Regions from separate parts of the Homo sapiens genome. Here region 2 is linked to region 1. The links are contacts of gene promoters, found by promoter capture Hi-C in blood cells and fetal thymus (Javierre and others, 2016). All regions are on one chromosome and are shown on one strand. Each heading gives the region's core, a stretch centred on a gene start or on the middle of the fragment in contact. The rest is flanking DNA. Distances are from core to core; before and after follow the strand shown.

Evidence for each region. Contacts are between HindIII fragments. The CHiCAGO score rates a contact against its expected background, and 5 or more counts as called.
Region 2: a contact is called between the fragment with the promoter of PRPF8 here and the fragment with the promoter of SMG6 in region 1, in 8 of 17 cell types (naive CD8 T cells, fetal thymus, total CD4 T cells and 5 more). The highest score is 10.9, in naive CD8 T cells.

The regions. Positions count from the first base shown.
Region 1 is chr17:2,301,553-2,305,098 of GRCh38, forward strand. SMG6 (SMG6 nonsense mediated mRNA decay factor) reads right to left here and starts at 2,233. Exons shown (of 19, transcript NM_017575.5): 1 at 2,081-2,233. The coding sequence starts at 2,168. It overlaps SRR (serine racemase), which reads left to right and starts at 2,398. Exons shown (of 8, transcript NM_021947.3): 1 at 2,398-2,465. RefSeq lists enhancers at 491-1,305, 1,635-2,361 and silencers at 1,863-2,072, 2,263-2,482. The HindIII fragment of the contact is 10,069 bases long and covers 1-3,546 here.
Region 2 is chr17:1,682,939-1,686,274 of GRCh38, forward strand. It overlaps PRPF8 (pre-mRNA processing factor 8), which reads right to left and starts at 1,929. Exons shown (of 43, transcript NM_006445.4): 1 at 1,842-1,929; 2 at 1,534-1,644; 3 at 595-763. The coding sequence starts at 1,633. The HindIII fragment of the contact is 11,873 bases long and covers 1-3,336 here.

The sequences.
Region 1 (3,546 bases), core at 983-3,482:
CCACTCTCGGCCGGGCGCGGTGGGTCACGCCTGTAATCCCAGCACTTTGGGAGGCCGTGGTGGGTGGATCACGAGGTCAGGAGATCGAGACCATCCTGGCTAACACGGTGAAACCCCGTCTCAACAAAAAATACAAAAAATTAGCCGGGCGTGGTGGTGGGCGCCTGTAGTCCCAGCTACTCGGGAAGCTGAGGCAGGAGAATAGCGTGAACCCAGGAGGCGGAGCTTGCAGTACGCGGAGATCGCGCCAGTGCACTCCAGCCCAGCGGACAGATACTTACTTAAGTATCTGGTTTTTTAAAAAAGTATCTGTTACCGTTATCAAAAGTAACCACTAAACATTACAATGGAAAAGTGACAGAATTCGGGAGAATATTATCAAGTACACAAATGGAATGCTATATAAAATCCTAGCATAGGCCAGGTGCAGTAGCTCACGCCTATAATCCCAGCACTTTGGGAGGCTGAGGCGGGAGGACTGCTTGAGGCCAGGAGTTCGAGATCAGCCTGGGCAACATGGCAACACCCTGTCTCTATAACGTATACAAAAAATAGCCAGGTGTGGTGGTGCAGGTCTGTAATTCCAGCTACTCGGAAGGCTGAGGTGGGAGGATCACTTGAGCACAGGAGGGGGAGGCTACAGTGAGCTGAGATCCCTCCACTGCACTCCAGCCTGGAAGACAGAGTGAGACCCTGCCTCAAAAAAATTGGCCGGGCACGGTGGCTCACGCCTGTAATCCCAGCACTTTGGGAGGCCAAGGCGGGCGGATCACGAGGACAGGAGTCCAGACCATCCTGGCCAACACGGAGAAACCCCGTCACTACAAAAATACAAAAAATTAGCCAGGCGTGGTGGCACACGCCTACAGTCCAAGCTACTGGGGAGGCTGAGGTAGGAGAATGGCGTGAACCCGGGAGGCGGAGGTTGCAGTGAGCAGAGATCGCGCCACTGCACTCCAGCCTGGGCGACAGAGCTAGACTCCGTCTCAAAAAATAATAATAACAACAATAAAAAAGTTTTTAATCCTAGTATTGCTCTCTAAATATAAATGGAAACAAGCCCAAAACAGGAATCATATGCTCCAGCAAGTACATTTACTGTTTGTAGGTGTAAGGAAAAGGGGAAGAAAAGAGACTGAGGTTTTGGATAGTGCTTCACTATTTTCATAAGTTTAAAAGGTAGGTTCATGAAGTATCCACAAAGATAAAGCAGTTTAACCCAAGAATAGCTCACCCTCGGCAGTCTGTAACTTGGTGGGGGGCGGGGGGATGGGGAAAGCTATTCCTACTACTTTCTAGAGCAGCGGGAGAAAATAGCCTTAATAATCCAATTATGTTAATCAACAAAAACCAATTTCACAGACTGGCCGCAAACCTAGAGAAGGCACCTATCACAGCTACCATTCTACACAACTCTATTGCCTAACGCAGGAGAGGTGAGACACTTAGAATCTTTCTTACTTTCCTGACGTGGCTGGAGACTTGAAATTAACTTGCAAATTGAGCATTCTCTCTAATAAAAACTGCTCCCACACATGCCAGGGCCAAACCCGAGTAGTCTGAGGTCCCGGATCCCTCCAGTGGCGCAGCTTTCGGAAGCCTGTCTTGGGGGGGAAAAGTTCAGCAACGAAGTCGCAGGCTCTTAAACCTTTCTCCCCAATTCCTTCTCTCCGACGTTAAAGCGGTGGCCGGGGCAGGCCCGCGGAGGGCGGCCTGGAGAGCGATACGCCCGGGGCCTCCACCAGACCCCACTCCTTTCCGCGTCTCCCGATGCCTGGGAATCCGGGGCGGGTCTGAGAGGGCTGGGGCAAAAGGAACAGTCACCTTCGCGGCGAGAAAGAGGGTGGAGGCAGGAATTCGGGCCAGGCTCTCCCGGAGCTGGCCAGGACTGGCCGAGCCCGACCCCGCACTAACCCGCGAGAGAGGTAGGGCAGCGAGGGTCCGCCGCGGCCCCAGCGCCTACTGCTGGGGGAAGGGGCGGGGGCTCCGGAGCCGAGGGCCGAGCGGGGAGGAGGCAGAGGAGGAGGAGAGGGAGGCGGGGCGGGCAGGCCCGGCCCAGGAGCTGGGCGGCGCGACTCACCTCTGCTCCCGGCCTGCGGGGCCAGAGTAGCCAGGATCCCGCGCAGCTCCGACGCGGAGATCCGCACACGCTCCAGCCCTTCCGCCATCTTCGCGGCTGCTGCTACAGCCGTAGCGGCTCCGCCACCGCCGCGCGCAGCCAGGAAACCACCACAGACGGGCGGCGCGCGCGCTCGCCCACCTCCCGGCCTTTCCCCGCCCCCTGCCGCCCTCCCTTTCCGAACGACGGTGGCCGCGCTGGGAGGAAAAGCGCCCGCCGCCGGTTCCAGAGGGGCGGGACCGGAGCGAGAGCCTGGGTGGGGCGGGCGGGCGCTGCGCGTGCGCAGAGGTGCGGCCGGGGAGGCGCGCGGAGGCTGGAGCTGGAGGCGCGGCGCCGGTGAGCTGAGGTGAGGCGAGGCCGGGCCGTGCCAGGCCAGGCGGGCGTTTGCGGCGGTGGCTGCCGTTGCTGTTGTCGTGGACACCAAGGACACTGCTAGTCTGGGACTCGGGTTGACAGAGACACCCCTCAGCCTGGGCTCCTCTGGACACCTTAGGCCAGGCTCTCCCGCCACAGGCCCGGCCTAGCGCCGCGGGCCATTACTTGGGACCTTGAAGATCTGCTAAGAGTAGTTGTTACTATTCCCTTTTTTTTTTAGTTGGAGTCTCGCTCTGTTGGAGACTCCCGGGCTGGAGTGCAGTGGCGCGGTCTCGGCTCACTGCAACCTCTGCCTCCTGGATTCAAGCGATTCTCCTGCCTCAGCCTCCCTAGTAGCTGGGATTACAGGTGCACGCCACCAAGCCCGGCTAATTTTTGTATTTTTTGTAGAGACGGGGTTTCACTAGGCTGGTCTCGAACTCCTGACCTCAGGTGATCCACCCGCGTCGGCCTCCCAAAGTGCTGGGATTACAGGCGTGAGCCACCGCGCCCGGCCGCCCCCTGACTTTTAAAAACTAGATACGATATAGTTGGAATCGTGTGGAAGGAAGTACATCAGGAGGCATATAAGTCCATTTGGGACCTGTAATCCCGGCGACTCGGAACGCTGAGACGGGCGGATCGCTTGAACCCGGGAGGCGGAGACTGCAGTGAGCCGAGATCGCGCCACTGCACTCCAGCCCGGGAGTCTCCAACAGAGCGAGACTCCGCCTCAAAAAAAAAAAAAAGTCAATTTGGGAATTTCTGTGTCACTATGGATTCTTGAAAAAAATTACTGCTGTGGATCTCAGGTTGACTTTTTAATTTCCCATCTTTAAAATTGAACTATACCAGAAGGCTGGTACTTGAATCTTTTTTTGGAGAACTGTACAGAGGTGAAGCTCCCTTCCCCAAGGCCTCCTGCCTCCACCTGTTGCCCCTCCACAGCCCCATAGGCTTTTACCCCACACCCATCACAGAATAGTTACCAATTATTCCTTAGTCTGAGCCGAAGGGATTGCCACAACCTCTGACAGAACTCCTTCAGTTCCTTTTACGTGACACTTTGTCAC
Region 2 (3,336 bases), core at 679-3,178, 620 kb before region 1:
TGCACAGTATCCCACTCTGGACTTCAACCAGCTCAACCATAGGGACATCTTATTTTTCATTTTTTTTTTTTTTTTGAGACGGAGTCTCGTACTTTCGCCCAGGCCAGAGTGCAGTGGTGTGATCTCGGCTCACTACAAGTTCCGCCTCCCAGGTTCACGCCATTCTCCTGCCTCAGCCTCCCAAGTAGCTGGGACTACAGACACCTGCCACCACGCCCAGCTAATTTTGTGTATTTTTAGTAGAGACGGGGTTTCACCGTGTTAGCCAGGATGGTCTCGATCTCCTGACCTCATGATCCACCCGCCTCGGCCTCCCAAAGTGCTGGGATTACAGGCATGAGCCACCGCGCCTGGCCAGGGACATCTTATAATATCATCAACAGGACAAATTAAAGCACCAGTCCCAGATCGGGAAGAGAGGGGAAACAGACTGCAAAAGTGGAAGATGTAGAAATTATCAGAGACTCCTACTGGTTTTCTCCTTTCTCTTATATCCACCAAGATGAGCTGTCAAAGCATCAATCCAAGACTGTGGGACAGGGAGAAGGGAAAAGGGCCAAATTCCAAATGAAATTATTTCAGGATGTTCCTTACCCCAAGTAAACCCTTTTGTCATGGCGGAACTTCCTGTTGGTCATGTCTCCATGGTCTCGAATGATCTTCCTGACATGTTCTGGGGGCATGTCTTCCTTCTGGGCATCCACAAACCCAAACTTCCGCTTTTCTGCATAGCGCTTGGCCTGCAATTGCTGCCATTTTCGAGCTGGAAAGGCACCTCAGTTTAAAGGCCTGCACACCCTCCCCCTAATCCTCTTCACCTCTTGCCCTAGGGTAAGCTCCTGTCAGTGAGTGTGAGGGAGAAGCAGGCACCAGCAGGAAGAAGCACCCCTTGCCAATTCCCTTACCATTTTACTCTGTTTTTCCTTTCATCACATTGATCACTATCTGACTTTTTTTTTTTTTTTTGAGAGGTTGTTTCACTCTGTCTCCCAGGCTGGAGTGCAATGGTGCGATGTCGGCTCACTGCAACCTCCGCCTCCTGGGTTCAAGCCATTCTCCTGCCTCAGCCTCCCCAGTAGCTGGGATTATAGACACGCGCCACCACACACGACTCATTTTTGTATTTTTCGTAGAGACGAGGTTTCACTGTGTTGGCCAGGCTGGTCTCGAACTCCTGACCTCAGGTGATCCGCCCGCCTGGGCCTCCCAAAGTGCTGGGATTACAACCGTGAGCCACCGCGCCCGGCCTGACATTTTTATTACAGAGCTTCAAGGTTTTGTTATTCTCTGTCTCTCCCGCTGTAATTTAAACCCCGTAAGGACAGGAATTTTGTCTCCGTCACTACTGTACCCCCGCTGGATCAGCGCTTGCAAATAATACGCGCTTAAAATGACTTGATGAAAAATTAACTGGAAATAACAAGGGAGCTGACACCTCAGGAGCTGCCCAAACGGGGAGGGTCCCCACCCGCCTGCGCGCGCGCACACCCGCCCCGCCTCCGGCCCGCGCGCCGCTCCACACTCTCGCCTCACCTTTCTCCTGCAGCTTCTCCTCCGACATGTAGTCCGGTAGCGGGGCTAGAGGGCCAGGCACCGGGTTACCCGGCCCTCGATAAGGAAACACTCCGGCCATATCCGGAGAATCTGGGGAGCGGCGGGATAGAAAAATTCACTAACCACAGGCCCGGGCCCACAAGAAGCGCAGCAGAAAGGCGTCCGGGGACCCCGGCCTGCAGTCCCGCCACACAGTGCATCCAGCCCCGCCCGGCCTAACCCCTTCGGTCACTCGGCCCGACCCGACCACGCCTCCCGCAGCCCGGCCTTAAACGCCTGCCACGCACCCCACAGGCCCTCACACAAGAGGCCGCTTTCCCCGCAGCGCAATGGCGGCCAGACTGCGTCCGCTCCGCGTTCCCAGCGCCGGGAAGTGCGCAACCCGAGTTCAGCAGTTGATCCAGTCGGCGCCGAGGTGCTCAGATGGATTAGTGAGACGACCAATTAGAGTTGCACACTGCGCCGAGGAGGCGGGCCCATAGGCGGAAAGGCTTTGAACGCAAGGGGGTGTGGTCGGGGTGAAGCCCCGCCTCCTCCATTTCCGAGGCTGTTTCTGGGGCCTCTGACAGACCTCAGCGTGTGATGGGCTCCCGGCGTCGCACTGTGAGAGAGCGAAGTCTAAAGGGTTTGAATAAATTTGCCAAGATTGCGCATTGTACGATGTCTGTTGTCATCAATGTGTACATGCAATGCAGTACTAGCTCCTGGACAGTCATTTGTTCATGCATTCATTCATTTAACCATCACTGTCTACCGAGGACGAGGGATAAAGCAGGAAAAAAGACAACCAGTAGAGTTCACAGGGGAGCAGAAAGGCAGGCAAGAATTAAGACCTTGGCCGGGCGCGGTGGCTCACGCCTGGAATCGCAGCACTTTGGGAGGCCGAGGCAGGCGGATCACTTAAAGCCAGAAGTTCGAGGCCAGCCTGGCCAACATGGTGAAACCCCGTCTCTACTAAAAATACAAACATTAGCCGGGCGTGGTGGCGGGCGCCTGTAGTCCCAGCTACTCGGGAGGCTGAGGCAGGAGAATCGCTTGACCCGGGAGGGGGAGGTTGCAGTGAGCCAAGATCGCGCCACTGCACTCCAGCCTGGGTGACAGAGCGAGACTCTGTCTCGGGGGAAAAAAAAAAGTCTGAAATTCTGTGGAGGGTGCAGAGGAATTGTAACCCATACAGCCCCTGAATCTAGTTGAGAATTTACAAATCAAAGTGAAATAATTAGAAAAAAATTCAAAGGATGTCAATGTGCTTTCAGAACGGTAAAAATTTAAAAAATATTCCTTTTGTTTTTTTGAGACAGGGTCTCACTCTGTTGCCCAGACTGGAGTGCAATGGCGCGATCTCAATTCATCACAACCTCCACCTCCCAGGATCAAGCAATTCTCCTGCCTCAGTCTCCAGAGTAGCTGGATTACAGGCACGCGCCACTACTGCCGGCTAAGTTTTGGATTTTTAGTAGAGACAGGGTTTCACTATGTTGGCCAGGCTGGTCTCAAACTCCTGACCTTACGAAATCCTCCTGCCTCGGCCCTCCCAAAGTGCTGGGATTACAGGCGTGAGCCCCCATGCCCGGCCTGAAATCTATTTTTTAATGCTGGGTGTTCTAAAGGTCCCTACAGTCAAAAAAGACAGAGGAGAATTGTTAAAGATTTGATGGAGATGGATGGATGTGAGGATTTCATAAAGGTAAATGGAGAGGAAGGAAAAAGGTAATCCCAAGTGGTAGAACTACTAGAAAGAGTTAAGAAAGAAGCCGGGCACCGTGACTCATACCTGTAATC